Regions from separate parts of the Homo sapiens genome. Here regions 1 and 2 are each linked to region 3. Evidence: promoter capture Hi-C in human tissues and cell types (Jung and others, 2019). All regions are on one chromosome and are shown on one strand. Each heading gives the region's core, a stretch centred on a gene start or on the middle of the fragment in contact. The rest is flanking DNA. Distances are from core to core; before and after follow the strand shown. Region 1 overlaps PEX14 (peroxisomal biogenesis factor 14). Region 2 overlaps CASZ1 (castor zinc finger 1). Region 3 holds the start of CASZ1 (castor zinc finger 1).

Region 1 (3,768 bases), core at 224-2,723, 250 kb before region 3:
CAGAGGCTTTCATTCATGAAGTTCAAGTTTACTATATCATGGTATGTCAGGAAAAAAAAAATCATGACCCTCTGTGATAAATTAAATATCACAACCACGTAAATGTCATCTTTTCAATGAAACTGAAAGTGCATAGGAATGGGACTCTTTTTCAGTCTGTTTTGGCTTTAAGCTGTAAGAAAAATATTTTAACACTGACAGTAGTAAACCTATGAAGCTAAAGAACAAAGCCATACTCTCCCCAGCTTTATAAGTCACACGCGGAATTGTGAATTAAATTATTCTAATTGCAAAATTTGGGGTCTTGGCCGAAAGAACACAGGTCGAATTTGAAGAAGAGGCAGCTAGAAAAATCGGTGTAACTTTTACGTGAAGATAATTTGCACAGAATGTAATTGAAAGAGAATAAATATGGAGCTCCATGATGTCCTCTTTGAGTCTATTTCTCATATTTACTTACATTTTTTTTTCCCAATCAAAGGCTCTCCTTTAGGCAGTCCTGAAAAGAGGAGACACAGTGCTGAAATAGAAATAAAGGTTAAGTATCTCCGATCCAAAATGCTTGGGACCAGAAATGTTTCAGTTTGGATTTTTTCAGATTTTGGAATATTTGCAGAATATTGTGTTGGTTGAACATCCCTATTCCAAAATCCTCCAATGAGCATTTCCTTTGAATGTCATGTTGGCACTCAAAACGTTTCAGATTTTGGATTATTTTGGATTTCAGATTTTTGGATCAGGGATGCTCAACCTGTAACAGGCAGAAATAATAGAAAATAACAGAAATAACATAAAATAGCACTGTTCTTTGGAAGATCTTAGTACCTTATTTGGAAAGATTTTTACTATTCATTCATCCACCACCCATCCATCCATCCATCCATCTTTCCATCCAACAAGTATTTATTGAGTGCATGTATCTTACAAGGCATGGTGCTGGCCCTGGGAGTGAGGATGTAATGTTACCATTTACATAAAACAAACAGAGGCCTGGGGTGGAAGCAGACTCCACAGAAATATGAACAAACAAGCAAAATACAGATAAGCAAGGTGCTGTGAGAGAGAATAATGGAGAGGGTGGGGTAGGTTTGCATTGGGAAGGTTGCTGAGACCAGAAGAATGATAAGTGGTTCTGTGAAGAATGAGAATCCCGGGCAGAAAGGACAGCAAGCTCTCAAAGACTCCAAGGCAGGAAAGGAGCTTGATTTGATCTAGGAACTCCTGCAGCAGTGAGTGAAAATGAGAGTGACATTTTATAGCTTCCATCTGGAGACACCATGGAAAATAAAAGTTCTATTCTCCCAGTCTAGAATTGTCCATGTCAGCTGTGACCAAGTTCAGCTCTGTTCACCAAGCATTCCTCATCTGCTGTTTGCCAAGTGCTATGCTAAGTGCACTGGGGACATAAATGGTCCACACCCTTAGAGAACTTGGTGATGAGGCTGTAGAAGCTACTAGTAATACAGATGTTTTAATTTACAGGCAAGCCTGAGATGATACGGTACAGACTGTATAATAGCCACTGGCATGTGTATTTTGCTTTACAGCTTAAAAGCATTCACACATACATTTGCCCATTTAATTTTCATGGTAACCTAAGTCATTTCCTCAAAAAGTGTAAACATGGGCTTATGAGACATATGGAAGCCCACCCAATTTGAGGAGCAGGGTCTCTGTCATCACTGAGTTGAATTTCAGGGTGTAGTCTGCGCCTGTGCTCTCCCCTTGAAGAATCACATTGTAGAAAATGAAATCTAGAATGACTACAGAGGTTACTTAGTTCGTCTATACCTTTTCATATACATTTCAGTAATTATTTTGCTACATAGGAAGTGAATTTAATTTGGAGTTTTTCCTGCTGCCTTCCATGAGGGCTTTCATCCTAAGCCCCATTCTTGTGTGTGAGAAGAGGAAGTCTTGGGCTTGAGTGTGGCTCTAAAGTAAATGCCGTTGACTTTGTTGTTCTGTATGGACGCTTTTATCAGGACAATAAAGGGTACATAGGGTGACCTCTGCTCCTGTGGAGAGGTCGAATGGTTACATTACACAATCTTCTAGAGCATCTTGCAGCAAATACATGGGTTATATTAAAAATTGCAATCATATCATTTTTTATAGTAAATTGCTGACCTTCTGCAGCGGAATCAGCTTTATTGAATTTCGCCAAAAATGTGTTTATAATTCTGCCATACACACATGATATTCATGTCCTTGCTGTCCATGTGGAAATGTCCCTTTTTATAATGTTAAACAAATTAAATCGACTTTCTCCTGAGCTTCCGTGCCTCACCTTTAAGATCCATTCTCAGGAGTCGAACCTCCATGAAGCCGAGCTCATCTCCATTAGCGTGGATGTCATTACACAGCGCGCTGGAGGCTGGTGCATTAGGCAGCTTTATCCCAGCAGCACGGATTCGGCTTGGAGATTCTTTAGAGGTGACTCCAGGGCAGTAAATGTATTTCACGCATACTGCCTGAACACTAACAAGGCCTTACCATAATTACTCTGTTTGTTTTGGGGAAATGGTAGGTATTTGTTTAAAAGGATTTTGTGGTGAACCAAGAATATACATGTGTAGTTAGTTCTCGCTATTCACTTGTGAATGATGCATTGTAGAAGTTTTATCTTATACCAATTTTTCTTTAATTTTCTGCAGCTCTACTTCCCTTCCAACCAGTTTGGTATCAGGGATGCAAACTAATTTTAATGTTAGCCTAACAAAAATACAATCAGAAAGTTATGGCCAGGCACGGTGGCTCATGCCTGTTTACAGTCCCAGCACTTAGGGAGGCTGAGGCAGGTGTGGAGTTCGAGACCAGCTTGGCCAACATGGTGAAACCCCGCCTCTACTAAAAATACAAAAATTAGCCGGGTGTGGTGGCAGGCACCTGTAGTCCCAGCTACTCAGGAGGCTGAGGCAGGAGAATCTCTTGAACCCGGGAGGTGGAGGTTGCAGTGAGCTGAGATCGTGCTGCTGCACTCCAGCCTGGGCGACAGAACAAGACTCTGTCTCAAAAAAAAAATAAGTTATACTGCATACTGCATACTTAGATGAAACATAAACATTTAAAAACTATCTCCGGGCTGGGTGTGGTGGCTCATGCCAGTAATACCAGCACTTTGGGAGGCCGAGACGGGCAAATCACGAGGTCAGGAGTTCAAGACCAGCCTGGCCAATGTGGTGAAACTCCATCTCTACTAAAAATACAAAAATTAGCTGGGCATGGTGGCGGACGCCTGTAATCCCAGTTACTCAGGAGGCTGAGGCAGGAGAATCGTTTGAACCTGGGAGGCGGAGTTTACAGTGATCTGAGATCACGCCATTGTACTCCAGCCTGGGCAACAGGGCAAGACTCCGTCTCAAAAAAAAAATCTGCTTTTTAGATTCATTTACTCTAAGTTTGTTCATGCCTGTTATCTATATATTTATATCTATGTTTGTATCAATTGTTGGTTCCCAGTTTAGCACATAGAGGCAGTATGATTCACTGGAAAAATCATCTATCCATTTACTAATTATTAAATATCCATTTCCTTCATGTGCCAACATTTGTGCTAAACATAAAAATACAAAAATAAGATTTAATATTTGTAGTTTAGTGGGGTTCCATGATATATAAACAGATGTGGTGTGGGTGATAAAATATTATAGGTGCTATAATAGGTATCTGAGTGGAGGCCTGGGGGGAGAGCGATCAGTTTTGTGGTAGGGGAGGAGAACTAGTGGCGAAGAGGTTAAAAAGGTGCCTCCATTCATGGAGGAGGTC
Region 2 (3,851 bases), core at 76-2,575, 150 kb before region 3:
GCTCTGTGCCCCTCTGGCCTGCTCTGCAGGGAGCACGTGCTGGGACTGATGGCTGCCCTGGGGACGTGGGTGCAGCAGCAGCTGTTGCTCAGGGTCCCAGGAAGGGCCTGGACAGGGGCTCAGAGCCCCCGGCTGAGGGCTGCATGTGTGAAGGAGGATGGGAAGCCCACCCTTGCTGGGGCAGCATCTCCGAGAAGCCGGCTCAGCTTCTGTGGCCCAGCGGGAACTGCTGTACCAGCCTGAGCCCCACCCACCCCAGAGCCAGGCTGGGATCCGTGGGGCTCTGTGGAAATGGCCCCCAGCACCCTACTCACTTTGCGTGCTTGATGGCCCCGTCCAAGGTGCTGAAGAGCGCGCCGCATTCCTCCACCACGCAGTGGAAGTGGGCCTTGTGGAGGAAGTCACACTGGCCGTCACAGAAGTCCTTTGTACCAAACCTAGCCAGAGGAGCTGGCGTTAGAGGAGAGCCTGGGGCTCCAGGGCGGGTGCGGGGGGACGATGGGTGGACGCGGCCAGCAGCCCCTCACCTGCGCAGGTACACCTTCCAGGGCTCTGCCAACTTCTCCTGAACCAGCGCCTTCACGGCCTTGCCTAGGAAGGGCGAGGGCTCCGCAGCGGGGCTCCCCTCCGCTTCCGCCTTGATGTTCAGCAGGCTGCCCAGGCCAGGGTTGCCCTGAGACATCTGTGAGGGACAGAGGCCGAGCATGGGGCTGGGGTAGCTTAGAACACAGACACGGCAGCCTGGGGAGCAACAGCCGAAGCTCTGGGCTGCTGGGACCCACCCAGCCCTCAGAGCCAGCAGAGAATGCGGCCCGCCTACTTGGCTCTGGCTGTGGCTGGGCCCTCTCTGAACAGAGAGCCTGCTGTGCTGCCCCGACCCCAGGAGCTGCGAGGCCTCCTCAGGGCTCCTCCACATGAGCCCGTGCCGCGGGATCCATCACTCAAGCCGAGGCCGCGACTCAGGGTGCACGCTGCAGCCCATCTTTCCCCAGACTTCGCGGCTCCCTGGTTATTTTCCTGCCAGAAGGTTTTCAAAAGAAGCGCAGAAGGAGGAGGGATGGGGGAACCCCTACGAATTCCTTGAGAACAAGAGGAGGCCCACAAAGGAGAGAGAGGGAGGGAGGGAGGGAGGGAGGCTCACGGGTGAGACCCAGACAGGCTTGCTGCAGCGGCCGGGAGGGGGTCATTGCGAGGATCCAAGGGAAGGGAGGGGGTCGTGGGGGCGGAGGCCAAAGGAAGGGGAGGGGGAAGGAGAGCAAGAGGGCAAGTGGCCAAGGAGTGGATGCCACGGACCAGTGAGGCTCCTTCCCCACCGAGTGCCCGGCTGGGGCCCTGCGGCGAGAGGTCCGGCCCGGGCCCGGCCCCTCCTCAGGGCAGTCACTTGTGTACAGTAACCGAATTAATCTTGCTGTAGTCAAATGTATCATGTGAAGGGGAAAAATGTATTTGAGATGATGTATAATTTACAAAGACCCTGCATTATTTAAAATAAATATTCCGGAGCGACCTCTCCGGAAGGCGTCCGAGACCATTACTCAACCGGAAAAGTGGAAATTGATGTTTTGCTCCCACTTTAGTCCCCCCTCCCCCATCCCCTTTTAAACAAACAAAAAATATATATAAAATAAATAAATAAAATTAATAACGAGGCACGAACGAAGTTGAAGGGCTCTGGAAAAGCTTTTGGAGCCCTCCATCTGAAGGGAAAAAAAGGTGTCAGAGGCTGGAATATATTTCTTCAGCCAGTTCATTAAATTAATTTGTAAGCAGTGGCTCTGAAATTATATCCGATGAAAAATGGCCTCAAAATTTAAATGGTACAAACTCATCTTATTAGAGGCAAAACATTAAAAAACAAACACATCCCCCCACCCCCCAGCACAGCTTTAATTTCTCTGGGTGGGGGAACGGGAGGCGTGTGATGGATGGCTCTTACCTTATTCATAAGCGAGGATAAAAGAGATGAATTTGCCGGGACTGCGTGGCCATTTGATTCGTTGCTAGAACACACAAACCAAGGGACTTGAGCTCAGACGGCCGGGGCCTGGGCCCTGGGGCTCACCTTCCCTGCCCGACCCTGGGGCTCCAGCCGAGCCCGCTGCAACTGCCTGGGCGGGACCACCCCGGGGCTCCAGCTCGAAGGTGTGGTTCCCGGGGCTGGCTCCCATAGGGGGCCTCGCCTCACCTGGGCTCCTTCACAGTCAGGTCTAGACTGCGGTCCTGGGAGGCTTCGTGGGGGCCTGGGGCGCCGGTGCTCTCACCGGGTTCCGGCTTCACTTGGGCCGGGGGGAACCTGGCTGGGGTGACCTGCTGCCCGCTTCCTGCAGGGGAGGGGTGGGAAGATGCGTCAGAGGGGCTGAAGGCCTGGCCCGGGCACAGACAGCCGCCGTGCCCCCTGGAGGGAGGGCAGTGGGCTGGGTGGGCCCCGGCTACTGGTCAGCGCTTCTCCCGCTGACGTGATCGCTCGCGACGCTCGCTCCTGTGTGGCAATTCTTCAAGTGATAATTATTGCAAAATTATGTCAAAGTTGTCCTGGCTCAGGGCCTCCTGGAGGAGAAGGGCGGGAGGCTGGGGAGGGGGCTGGGGTGGGGGCGGGGGCCCTTCATTTTCTCCACCAACTGTCACAGTCGATTTGTGGGGCTGCCGCTTAGGCTTTTATTAAAGACTCTGTTAATGCTGAGGGAAAGTGGCAGATCTGGACTGGGAGGGCCCCTCTGTGGTCCCCAGCCCGCGGTTGCTGGGGTGACGGCCCCCGCACGGAGCATGCCCAGGAAGGGCCTCTGCTGTGTCAGGGCGATGGGGCCGATGGCCAATCAGAGCGGCCACACCGGGTGACCTCGCAGTCAAGCTATCCGGGGCAGGGACACGAGGCCAGGCTGGGCCGAGCTGGGTCCGGAAGGGAGCTGGGCGGGTGAGGCCGCAGGAGGCCAGCAGAGCAGGGGTAAAAGAAGTTGCTGACAGGGCCATCCAGCGAGCTTTCCCCTACAATCCCCCAGTGACGGAAATATGAATTTGCCCCAAGGTGCTGTAGCTGACAGAGTGCTGCTTCAGAAACAGCAAGTGGCATTTTATTAAAAAATAAAACGGCCCCCTCCCCTGTGCTTGATCTTTCTTTTGGGAGAAGGAGACTTTTCTAATGAAAACAAAGTACTTGACAGTCTGGCCACCGAGCCCACGTGGCCCTGGAGTGGGCCCTGCCCCATCCATCAGGCACCTGGCTGGAAGGGCGTGGCCAGCGAGGCCCCACCCATGCCTGGACCAGGAGGCGGTCCCTCCACGCGGCCACCGGGCATGAGCGTCCTATTGGGCCTGTGAGAGTTTTCAGACCTTGGGACTTCACATTCCAGCAGCTCTCCAAAGTCACCTGCCCAAGGTCCCAGGAAAACGGCCCAGCTCCCCTGCCAAGCACTGGCAGCCTCTGCAAGGTGTGGGCAGAGCCCCAGACTGGGCCACAGGGACCCTCAGTCTTGGCTGGTTCTGAGAGGGTTTCGAATGGGAACAGGGCATCTAGGCCCAGGAGCCCCACTCCTGCGGGCAGCGCCTTGGTTCACCACTTCCTAGCCATGTGCCCGGGACAGACCATCCCTGACCGTCTGCTGGCTCCACGGCGTGGGGCTCTGTCTGGCGTCCCGCCTGCTGTGTCCCCAGCACCCGGCTTGGAGCCTGGCTCTCAGCAAGCATCAGTGGTTGTTGAATGAATAAGTGAAATGAGCCACATCCCAGATGTGAACGGAACTCTCCTCAAGGATTCAACAAATAGGAACTACCCAGAGCAGGGAAACTGGGAGAGGAGTGAGGTAAACAGAAAACACCCTCACCCCAATCCAGAGAAAAATGGAGGGAAATTTTTT
Region 3 (3,660 bases), core at 903-3,402:
CAGGAGAGGCGCTACTGCCGCTTTTCCGGTGGGCACGCACCCGCACCCGCACCGTAGCCAGCGTGGCTGGAAGGAGGTCCTCGCCGCGCCCAGAGCCGGCTTTCCAAGCTGAAGCTGGGGCAGAGGAACTTGTGTGGAGGAAGAGGGGGTCCCCTGCCTCCCTCAGCGCTCCACTAGCCTCCCCCAACTCCGGACCCGGGTCGGGGATGACTTGGAAGAAGAATCTGCGCCCACCCCTTAGAGAAAAATCTATTATTATTATCTTAATCTACGCCCCCAAAGTGTCCCTCCAGCCGTGATTGACGGCGCATACACCTGTTCCCTTCGCGGAGGAGCTTCCAGCGCCGGGGACAGACATTCGCCCAAACGCTCCGCAGCGGCCCAGCAACCGCCCGCCCGCCCGCGCCCGGCCAGCCCCCGCCAGCGGCCCCAGCGCGCCTCTGCCCGCACCTCGCCACCCCGGCGGCCGCCCCCTCCCCTTCCAGACCCGGCTGCCCGGCCCGCCAGCTCCCGGCAGTGCTGGCTTCGGAAAGAGAGAGAAAGAACAGAAAGCAAAACTTCCTGGCGGCCGACGGCCATCAGCTGCACATTCTGCAAATGCCACCGAGTAAAAATAAACCGGCCGCCGCTCCGCCCGTCCGGCTCACCCCGGGCGCACGAATCGGCCCCCTGCCCCGGGAGATCCCTGACTCGGTCTGGCCCGATCCCCCATTCCCGCGCGCCCCCTGGATCCCCGCTCCCCGACGCTCCTCCGTCAGTCACCACGCTCTCCTTTGCCGTTAAGCCGGACCCTAAGTGACCGGGAAACCGGCTCTCTCCCTTTGGTGTTCCCTGCGCCCCCACAAACTACTTTTTTCTCTGTCCTTCACCAGGTGCCTATTTCAGCCCTGTGCCCTTGGATTCAGGGCTCCTCCTCCCCAATTGTTGAGCTCCGAGGTCACCCTCAGCCCACCCTGGGGGAACAGACCCCGACCGACCCTCTCCCACGCTGCAGAGCCCCCCCGGAGCGCACCACTCTACCAGCCCGCTAGCCCGCCAGCCCAGCGTCCCACGTCCCCGGGCGCAACTTCTCTTCTGGCGCACACAACAGCCGGCAACAACTCGCCCGAACTTTCCCCGGGACCCAGGCGGGCTCCAGCCGACAGCCGGGCAGCTCTGGGCCGATGCCCCGGCTCCCCGTGCCCTGTGTTGCCAGCCCTTCAGCTGGGGAGGCAGGGGGTGGGGTGGGGAAGGGAGTGAGGAACGCCACTTGCCGCGCCTGGAGCAGCGCACTTGAGATAAACTTCCCAGGCACAGATGAAAAAGGGGGCGCCGCTCCCCCCATCTAAGAAATCTCTTGCCTTCGATTTCCTATGGGGGATACCCTTTGGCACCCCGCGCCTAAGCGAACACTGCCTACCTCTGCTGGCAGCACCTACACCCGGTATCCGGGCACAAGAGCCGGCTGGAGGGGTTCCCCACCCACCCCTTCCCATGGGCAAAGTCTTGCAAAGTCACCCCAGGCACCCCTCACCCCGCCTCCTTCTCTGCCCTGGAGAGCGCACGACCCCTCTGCTGCTGGGGGGTGGGGTGGGGTGGGGGTTTAAGGGGAAGGAGTGATTACCCGGTATTGGAGATCACCTGCCCCCCCGGGAGCCCACAGCGCGTGGGGCGCCCCCACCCTATTTGCAAAGTCCTGTGCTCGCGCCTGGCACCTCCCTCTCTTCTCCCCTACCCCGCCACCCCCTCAGTTGGAGTAAGCGACCCCCAGGAGGAGCAGCCCTCCCCTCCCCCGGAGCCGCGCGCCGGGCATTCCCCTGGCCACGGCAGGCAACGCGCCGCCCCGCGCCCGGGTGCCAGCCCTCCGTGCCCCCTGCCTCCGCACGGCCGGAGTTGGGTGGCAGCCGCCGATCGCAGGCTGGCTGGCTGGCTCGCTCGCTCGCTCGCTCGCCCGCTCCCTGCTGCAAGCGGCAGCCCCGGGGGTGGGGGGGGTGCACCGGGACAGGGGGAGAGACGGGGAGGCGCCCCGGGAGGCCCGCGGAGCTGGGGGACGTGGGGGGGCCGCGGCGGAGGGAGCGCCGAGTCTCTTACCTGCACTTGGGGCGGCTTTGGGTGACTTTCCAAGTCCGGGGGAAAAATGTGTGTGTGTTTGGGATGGAGCGCCGCGGGCGCGCATGCGCTGCCCAAAGTTGCCGGATCCCGGATTTTTCGCTCCCAGTCTCCGCTCTCGCCCGCTGTGATTATGGAATTCTCCGCGGCCGGGCGGGCGAGTGGGTGGCATGCAAAACCCGGGCCGGATCGCGGGGCCGGGCTCCGCTCCACCCTCACACCCCCAGACCTGCCCCTCCCGGATCCTTCCCACCCACCGCCCGGGCTGAGCTCAGCGTGTGCGCGCGGCGAGTCGCACGGCCTGCGGAGGAGCATCTGAGCGCTCGGCCCCCTTTTGCAGGTCCAGAGGCTTCTACACCCCCCCCCAGCTGAGTTGAGTTGAGGCTAGGGGAAAAGAGAGAAGGGATGGGGGGGGGGGTTACTTTCCACCTGTTCTGAACCCCGAGAGAGCCCGAGTTCGGTTCCCACTTTCGACAGAAGAACTGGCTCTTTTTTGCAAGTTAGAATGTTAGAACTGTGGAACCCAAAGGAACGAAATGTTCTCACTGTTTGATATCTGCTTTGCACTTATTCTTTGCAAGGGAGTTTTTCATTCAATCTATTGTGCAAGAAATAAATCCTTAAGTGAGCAAGATAGGCCGTGCAGAATGAACCTTACATGGAGGGGCTGGGGGGGGGGCAGATAATACACATTAAAACAAGTGGATAATGTTATTTCAGAGAGTGAAAGTATCCATGAAGAAAATAAACCAAGGCAATAGGCTAAAAAGTGTCTTGGGGGCCGGCATGGTGGTTTACGCCTGTAATCCCAGCACTTTGGGAGGCCGAGGCAGGAGCATCGGTTGAGCCCAGGAGTTCGAGACCAGCTTGGGCAACATAGCTAGACCTCATTTCTGACAAAACAAAACAAAGCAGTGTCTTGCGAGAGATAATCCCCTTGCCCCCAGATGGGGGGGAAGGGCCTTTTGAGGGGCACTTTCATACTTTATTGAAGAAACCCCCTTTTCTCCCATACCCAGACTTCCCATTTCCCAGTTGGTTTGAGGTGGCCACACCAGCTGAGCCTAGTAGTCAGCTTCAGTGCTGAGGCCCTGTAGCTCTGGTCTTGCCTTTCTCAGCAAGCGCACCCCTCATTCCAGGCCTGAGCTGCTTTTCCCTTCAGCATAAGCGTGGGATGGAAATATCGAGAGGCATGAAAGAAACTGAAAACACCCAGATGATGAGATAAGTGAGAAACTGACCATAACAGTAAACGAAATAGATCAATGATTTGTGGAATAAATGAATATAAATTCAAAGTATGACCCACAGCTTCAAGCCCTGCTCAACAGAATGCATTAAACTAAGAGGCAATGCCACAGGCTGGTAAACATTGTTGCAGGCTGGTAGTATTTGGAGCCTAATCTGCAAGGTGTCAGGAAAGCCTCTCAGGACCAGAGAAACGACCCAAAACCCTGTATGATGATTGTCTAAGACAAGCATCTTCCGGGATGCATTCCCATGTCCTGCCTTAAACTGGAAGTTAATTGTCCAGAAGCATATGGACACAGACTGGAGACATGATGGCCCTCT

Evidence for each region. The method cuts DNA at HindIII sites, captures the fragments that hold promoters and counts their contacts. A contact is called where the count stands out against the background at its distance.
Region 1: a contact is called between a fragment that was not itself captured here and the fragment with the promoter of CASZ1 in region 3, in 4 of the 25 tissues and cell types used here (dorsolateral prefrontal cortex, mesenchymal stem cells, mesendoderm cells and 1 more).
Region 2: a fragment that was not itself captured here is called in contact with the fragment with the promoter of CASZ1 in region 3 in 1 of the 25 tissues and cell types used here (neural progenitor cells).

Annotation. Positions count from the first base shown.
Region 1 is chr1:10,549,079-10,552,846 of GRCh38, forward strand. All of the region lies in intron 3 of PEX14 (peroxisomal biogenesis factor 14), which reads left to right. Among named protein-coding and RNA genes, the nearest start is that of PEX14, 76 kb to the left of the region's middle. The HindIII fragment of the contact is 6,902 bases long and covers 1-3,768 here.
Region 2 is chr1:10,648,756-10,652,606 of GRCh38, forward strand. It overlaps CASZ1 (castor zinc finger 1), which reads right to left. Exons shown (of 21, transcript NM_001079843.3): 12 at 2,186-2,321; 13 at 1,937-2,000; 14 at 528-682; 15 at 315-437. Among named protein-coding and RNA genes, the nearest start is that of CASZ1, 150 kb to the right of the region's middle. The HindIII fragment of the contact is 4,971 bases long and covers 1-3,811 here.
Region 3 is chr1:10,794,494-10,798,153 of GRCh38, forward strand. It overlaps CASZ1 (castor zinc finger 1), which reads right to left and starts at 2,153. Exons shown (of 21, transcript NM_001079843.3): 1 at 2,071-2,153. The HindIII fragment of the contact is 29,932 bases long and covers 1-3,660 here.